Regions from separate parts of the Homo sapiens genome. Here region 2 is linked to region 1. Evidence: promoter capture Hi-C in human tissues and cell types (Jung and others, 2019). All regions are on one chromosome and are shown on one strand. Each heading gives the region's core, a stretch centred on a gene start or on the middle of the fragment in contact. The rest is flanking DNA. Distances are from core to core; before and after follow the strand shown. Region 1 holds the start of PCOLCE2 (procollagen C-endopeptidase enhancer 2). Region 2 has its middle 17 kb from the start of PAQR9.

The links. The method cuts DNA at HindIII sites, captures the fragments that hold promoters and counts their contacts. A contact is called where the count stands out against the background at its distance.
Region 2: a contact is called between a fragment that was not itself captured here and the fragment with the promoter of PCOLCE2 in region 1, in 1 of the 25 tissues and cell types used here (aorta).

Annotation. Positions count from the first base shown.
Region 1 is chr3:142,887,303-142,891,022 of GRCh38, forward strand. PCOLCE2 (procollagen C-endopeptidase enhancer 2) reads right to left here and starts at 1,781. Exons shown (of 9, transcript NM_013363.4): 1 at 1,512-1,781; 2 at 367-475. The coding sequence starts at 1,594. LOC124909443 (a long non-coding RNA gene) reads left to right here and starts at 962. Exons shown (of 2, transcript XR_007096122.1): 1 at 962-1,157; 2 at 2,289-3,465. RefSeq lists a silencer at 1,724-1,773. The HindIII fragment of the contact is 12,495 bases long and covers 1-3,720 here.
Region 2 is chr3:142,944,536-142,948,171 of GRCh38, forward strand. No RefSeq gene overlaps it. Among named protein-coding and RNA genes, the nearest start is that of PAQR9, 17 kb to the right of the region's middle. The HindIII fragment of the contact is 4,592 bases long and covers 1-3,636 here.

The DNA.
Region 1 (3,720 bases), core at 531-3,030:
GGAATTTATGAAGGCACGAGCAACAAAAAACTTATGAAGGTCATTACAACAGGCCTTTGACTGAAAACAGCTTTAATTATGAATCTATAAAACTCAACTGAGTCACACTGGGCTTTCAGAAACACATCTGCTCTGAGAATTTATTCCTTCAAGCATTATCTTGTGCCCTTTGTAATCACTAATGCAGGACACGACTAGATCTATTATATTAATAAAAATCTTCCCAATAGTTGGGGTAAATCCAACATTTCACTATTTCAGGCATTTGCCTCTTACTCAAATCCTAACACCAGAGGAAAAAGGCAGCAGCCTCACACTGTTGCCAACACCCACTTCCAGGAGAATACCTTTTTAAAAAATGCTTACTGTGATTTTCCAAGTACATTTGCTATTTGGAGGGTACACTCCAGGAAAACCTTCACTGCCAATAAATCCAGACTCTCCAGTAAGAATGCCACCACATGTGAAAACAGGTCTGGGAACATAAAAGAAGAAAAGATAATGTAATTTGAAACATGGTCTAACAATCTGATGTTACCTTCAGAAAGGTGTAGCCTATTAATATAAATAAAAGTTAATGTTGATTAATCAATGCTTGCACCATATAAGGGATCTGAAAATTTGCTAGCTCCTAGAATATTTAAATTATAGCCTGACAAAGCATTCAGTCCAGCGCCATCTGTCTCCATCATAATAACACAAGATTATATATATGTATAATCAAGTCCTCGGCATTGTGGCAAAGTCTTGTAGGAAAATGGTAAATACATCAATTTAACTGGGGGAGTGGGAGAGAAGGTAAGAGCCAGGCTGAATGAGAAGCATGGTTTTAAAGAAAGACAGGCAAGCAATTGGTTAATATAAAAAAAGTTTGTCGTTCCCATATTTGGAGAGATGCCCAGTTCTCCTCCCCCTTTCTGAAAATCACTCGCCATTGGCAGAGCTTCCCATCGAAAGGGAGGCTGATGTTGATGGAGGCTGAAGAGGTGATGCCAAAGTTGGCCACCGGGCAGGTCCCACAGCCCAGCTCCTGGGGCCTTCCAGAGGTTGGCGAAGAGTTAACTTTCCGGAGCGGCTCCCTAGGCGCCGCGCCGCTAGGGTTGTTCCCTAGTTTACGTCTCTGGGCAAAGCCTCTCGGGGAAGGAAAAAAAACAGCGGTAAACCAAAATCCACATATTTGGGCCCCAGTGCTTCCCTCTGGCCCCATAGACACGAGGAGAGGGGAGACACAAGTCAGATTAAGCCCCGCCACGTGGTGGCCAAGCCAGCTGCAGGGCCATCCGGCAGGCCGGGCTGGGGACCCAGGAGGGAGCCCCGCGAGCAAGGATGGGTCCCGAAGTCCCGGGCTTAGCCTACCCGAGGGTGGCGGACGCCTGCACCGCGCGGGAGCGCAGGGTCGAGCGCTGGGTCACCCAGGCGCGCCGAAGCGGGTTGAGTAAAGCAGCAGGCGAGGCTGCAGGGGTGGAGGAAGGGAAAGGAGAGAAAGGGAGCCCGGGCAGGGGTCGCGTTACCTCTCTGGGGACTGCTGCCGCGAGAGCTGGGTGGCGGCAGCCAGCAGCAGGCAGAGTGGCGCCCAGGCGTTCGCGCCCCTCATGGCAGCGTAGACGCTCGGGGTTTGCACCCCACGGCGCGCGCGCCGGCACACACGCCCCTCCGCACCCACCGCGCTCACACCGCCGCTCACACTGGCAGCAGCGCTGGCTCACACCGGCGCTCGGCTGCCCGCGCGCTCCCTCTCACGCGCGCACCGCCGCGGGGCGGCCCAGGTAGCCGGGGGATACGCGGCCGGCAGGGCGGAGGCACTTTTAAAGGCGATTATGGTGCCGTCTGACTCGACGCTTAGTTTCCCCTGAGGAGCTGCTCTGGCAGCCACAGGCCACTGCTGAATATCCCGTTTGTTCTCCGGCGGCAGGAGGGGCGGCTCCGAGGCCAGAGCCGCCCCCTCTCGTGGGGCGGGCGAACGTCTCCTCCCGGCACCCCGGGACCGACGGGTCCTCTCTCGTCCAGCCCTCAGGGACCCCGGGGAGAAGAGGAACCCCTTGCGGAGTGGCACCCCAGCGGCCCGGGCCCCGACGCCCAGAGACGATTCTCAGGGAGGGCTTCTGGTTTTGCTTTGGGGAATGTTTTTCCCAGTTGCTTTTAAATAAAAAGTAATAGCGCTTGCTGGCTGCTGGAAAGCCTGGGGGTCCTTCTTTGTCTCCTTCAAAACCCAGATCCAAGGAAAGAAAGGGAAAAGGGATTTTATTGTATTTTAACTTCTGTGCTTATTCTCCTCTCTCTCTCTCTAGATACTTTTCTTTTTTTTACTGGTATGACAATGACAAGGAAGACAGTCTCTGTGCCGGGATTTAAACACGGGTTTTCAGGCGAGCGATTTCTGTGTGAACTGTCATTAAATGTCAGATAATGAAGACGGAACCAAATCAGCAAATCTCACCATCCCATGTCATGTTCTGAAAATGGTGTTTCTCTGCTTGCATCTCTCTGTTCTTAGACCTTTCCAACAGCATCTTTCTGTGGTATTAACGGGTTAAAATTTACGGAGAATTCGTTTTTCTTAGACGAACAATTCTAGCCTTGTGGAATCAATACTCTCTTTTACTTAATTACAGAAATATAATTTTAAACATTTATTTTGTTAAGAGCTTCCCAATAACCAGGGATTAATAAAAGAATGACAGGAACAGACTAGATTCATAGAGATTTTTAATAATCACCAGCTATGGGAGATACAGCTTAACTTTGATGCCTCACGTTGTTCCTTCTAAATTGTTTTCACCTTTCTAAGCAAGAAAATTAAGTATTAAAGTAGTTCTTATCGAGACTTTATTTCTAATAATGAGCTGTTAAGAATCTAAACACGGGTGGGCGCGATGGCCCACGCCTGTAATCCCAGCACTTTTGGAGGCCGAGGCGGGCGGATCACGAGGTCAGGAGTTCGAAACCAGTCTGGCCAAGATGGTGAAACCCCGCCTCGACTAAAAATACAAAAAATTAGCCAGGTGTTGCGGTGTGCGTCTGTAATCCCGGGTACTCGGGAAGCTGAGGCAGAAGTATCGCGTGAACCCGGGAGGCGGAGGTTGCAGTGAGCCGAGATCACGCCATTGCACTCCAGCCCCGGGCGACAGAGTGAGACTCCATCTCAAAAAAGAAAAAAAAAAAAAAAAGAACCTAAACACTCCTGGCAAGGAAGTAAGTAAAACTGGCTACAGGAAATATTCTGACTTTTCATAGTGAGTGCACCCTGAAGCCTATACTAGGAACCAGAATATACGGACAGGACTTAGATTATCTTACCATTTTTTTAAAAAGTGAAGGCAAAAACATCATAAAGTACAACTTTCAAAACTTCTCTACAGGCACCACACCCTTTATGACATTAAAAAAAAGGGTGACAGAATTTGGCAAACTGCTTTATATCCTGAAACACTCTCAACCCAATAAAAATGTCTTTAAAACAGGGAAGAGGAGAATAAATGGTTGTTGATTTTGCACGCATTTCAAGAATATGCTATCTAATAGCATAAGTGTTTTTAGATAATTGTTTATTTGAAAGTCATAGTTTTAAATTATAAAGGGAAATATTGCTCAATTCACTTTCTGGTAATGATTTGCAGTCCTCGTAAACCAGAAAATACTTCATTCAGGACTAAGCTAAGTTTTCAAAATTTAAAATAAATAACAAAGTATTAAATGTGCCTAAATAGGAAACTATTTGAA
Region 2 (3,636 bases), core at 493-2,992, 57 kb after region 1:
TACTGGGGCAGTATTGACATAAATAGAAAATGAAGCTGCTTTTTTCATTGTTTGGAGGTTTCGTTTTTAGAAACTAGGGCAATATTATATCAAACTTGTTTCCTCCAACAAGGACTCCCACGTCTAGTAATGTATTCGTTTGTTCATTCATTAATTCATGCAAATATTAAATAAGTGCCTATAATGTGCCACATACTGTGCTGGGTGCTGAGGATCTCACTCTGCAGCCTGAGAACTTAGGTTCTAACAAGGAAAGGGAAACAATAAGCAACGGAATTTCACGTGGTGATATATGGTGTGTAGAAAGTAAAACAGGGTGAAGCCAGGTGAATGTACATGTATGTGGGCATGAAGGGGACAGAGGCAACTGCAGCTGTTTTTTTCTTCTTTCTGTTTTAGAGATAGGGGTCTCACTATATCCCCAGCCTGGTTCAAATTCTTGGGCTCAAGGCCTCTAGTAGCTGGGACTACAGGAAGGAGCCACAGCTCCTGGAGAAGGGGAAGGGGAACCTACTTTAGATAAGTGGTCAAAGGTGGTGGTGACATTTGAGTTGAGATCCAAACGGTGGAAAGGAGCTGGGCATTCATATGAAATGGGAGAGTTCTCTGATCCACCTGCAGGATGTGCAGCAGGGTTGTGGCTCGCCTGTTTGGTTACTGTCACTGCTCAAACCCCTGACAGGAATGGCAGCATGCAGACGGGCAGGTGCAGGAGCCAGGGCAAGTGCTTTGGGCTCTGGCCCTGTGGTAGTGTCTAGGGGTGGGTGCCTGTGCTCCCGGTGTTACAATGCTCTTTCAGCCTTGCTGTCCATGGACAGCTTAAGTGTTAACCAGCTCAATGGATGCTCTACTTTTTTGCAAGGGCAAAGGGCCAGGGTGACAGCTTTCTATATCCTGAGCGCTTGCCTAGCATCCCAGAAGAATCTGGTCACACACAGGCTTGAAGGATGAATGTAGGGTTTTATTGAGTAGTGGAGGTGGCTCTCAGTAGGATGGATGGGGAGGTGGAAGGGGGATGGAGTGGGAAGATGATCGTCCCCTGGAGTTTGGCCATTCAGCAGTGGAACTCCTCTCTGACCACTCCCAGCTGAACTCTTGGCATTCAGATGTTCCTCCTCTTCTTTTTCTCTGCTATGCCATTTGTCTGCTTGTCTCCCCGTCTCCTTGTTGGCTCATCTGCTTCTGGAGCCCGGGGTTTGGGGTTTCTATGGGTACAGGACTGGGGAGCATCGTGGGCCAAAAGGTAACAGAAATGCCTGTTCCTACTTAGGGCTGAGAGTCTCCAGGCTTAAGGGTAGGGCCTTTGCTGGGGAACCATTCTCTTCTACCCCGTATTTCCCTGTCTCTTGTCCGTATCACAGAGATCTTAGGGAAGAGATATCTAGAGCTGTGCTGTCTAGCACAGGGGAGACTGAAGCTCTTGAAATGTGGCTAATGTCACATGTTGAAGTGATATTTTGGATATAGTTGCTTAAAGAAAACATTACTAAAATCAATTAAACACCTAACAATTGGCAGTATCTTTGCTGGATTCCTCATTACCAACATTTCTAGCACTCAATCTAAGTATAAGCACTACAACCCTGTCACTATCTCATGCTTGAAACAAATTAACATGGTTAACACCTATAATTCCACTAATTCAATTCATCCAATTGTTTGTACAGTTTTACACTTTTTTGTGGCTTTAGAAAATTAAAGAAATACATACATGGTTTACATTATATTTCTGTTGGACATCACTGGTCTAAAGAGAAAATCTTAATCCAGTTCTTGCACACAGGTCCCTTGGATCCTCATGGATTGGGTGTGTTATGAGTTTGACCTAGGCCAGGCACAGTGGTTCTTGTCTGTAATCCCAGCACTTTGGGAGGCTGAGGTGGGAGAATTCTCTGAGACCAGGAGTTCGAGACCAGCCTGGGTAACAAAGTGAGATCCCCGTTTCTACAAAAATTAAAGAGTTTGAGCTAATAAAAACACTAGCTACAATGTACTGAACAGTTATGGTGCGCCAGGTGCGGGGCAAAATTGCTTTACATCCATTCATTGTATCCTCATGCTGTGAATGGAAAGGGGTCCAGATCCAGACCCCAAGAGAGGGTTCTTGAATCTCATACAAGAAAGAATTCAGGGCAAGTCCATACAGTAAAGTGAAAGCAAGTTTATTAAGAAAGTAGAAGAATAAAAGAATGGCTACTCCATAGGCAGAGCAGCCCTAAGGGCTGCTGGTTGCCCATTTTTATGGTTATTTATTGATTGTATGCTAAACGTGGGGGGGGGGGCGTTATTCATGCCTCCCTTTTTTAGACCACATAGGGTAACTTCCTGACGTTGCCATGGCATTTGTAAACTGTCATGGCACTGGTGGAAGTGTAGCAGTGAGGACGACCAGAGGTCACTCCCTTTGCCACCTTGGTTTTGGTGGGTTTTAGCTGGCTTGTTTACTACAACCCGTTTTATCAGCAAATTCTTTATGACCTGTATCCTGTGCCGACCTCCTGTCTCATCCTGTGACTTAGAATGGCTAACCTCCCGGGAATGCAGCCTGGTAGGTCTCAGCCTTATTTCGCCCAGCCTCCTCTATTCAAGATGGAGTTGCTCTGGTTCAAACGCTTCTGACAATACCACTATGAAGTAAGAAATACTTCCCGCTCTATTTTACAGATGAGGAAATGGAAGATGAGAGGCAGAGTAGGTTGCCTAAGGTGATAAGAGGATGAAATAACGGCGCGAGAAGTCGAACCCACTCCAGATCCGCCCATGCAAGACACAAGAAGCCACAGGAGGAGGAAGGGGCAGGCGGGAACTTAGAGCACCTTGGCGTGCCCAGCCCGGCGCCTACTCCCTCTCCTCTGCGCCGCTGGAGGCCTCGAGTTCGTGTCCTCTCGGCGCCTGCCTGGCTCCCCTTCCGAGGCCGCAGCGCCCTGCCATGCTGGCCTCCCCGCGCTCTCCCTGAGACCCAAGCCGACTCCCAGGCCGACCCCGCCGCCTGCGCCCAGCTGTGTCGGATCTACCTGCCCGCGACCGAGGAGCTCAGGGACTGCCCCAGGAGATGCTGCCTCGCCCGACAGGCGCCCCGGCCCCTGCCACGCCTCCCGCGCCTGGAAAGCACGACATCCCGCAGGCAGCATATCTGAGCCTGCATCGGCCTGCGGGAGTCCAGCCCGAGCCATTTTCCTGCCTGTCCCCACTCCTGACAGCCTGTGCCCAGTTCCCCTCAGCTCTCCCATGGTTCTCCAACGGTCCTTTCTGGGAACCCTTACAGCTTGGAGATCGTCTCACGGTGACCAGGGTGTTTCTGAGTTGTGTGTGTGTGTGTGTGTGTGTGTGTGTGTGTGACCACTGGAATGTCAGAATCCCCCATCCCTACCTTGGAAGTCCCGCTTTTTCCTCCCTACTGTTAAGGAACTTCAGACTGCCCCTCCACAAGGTTGCCTGCCTGGGCAGTCATCCAACTCCATGTCCACCGCAAGGACAGTGGGGACAGTGCACCAAGACACAAGGACCAGGCTGGACCCTAAGATGCTCCGAACACCTGGGCAGCTGTTCCAGACACACCGTCCCATTTTTCAGGATGGCACCTGTTTCCTGTTAGAGATTTCTTAAGGGAGATTGTGAATAATCACCAGTGATTTT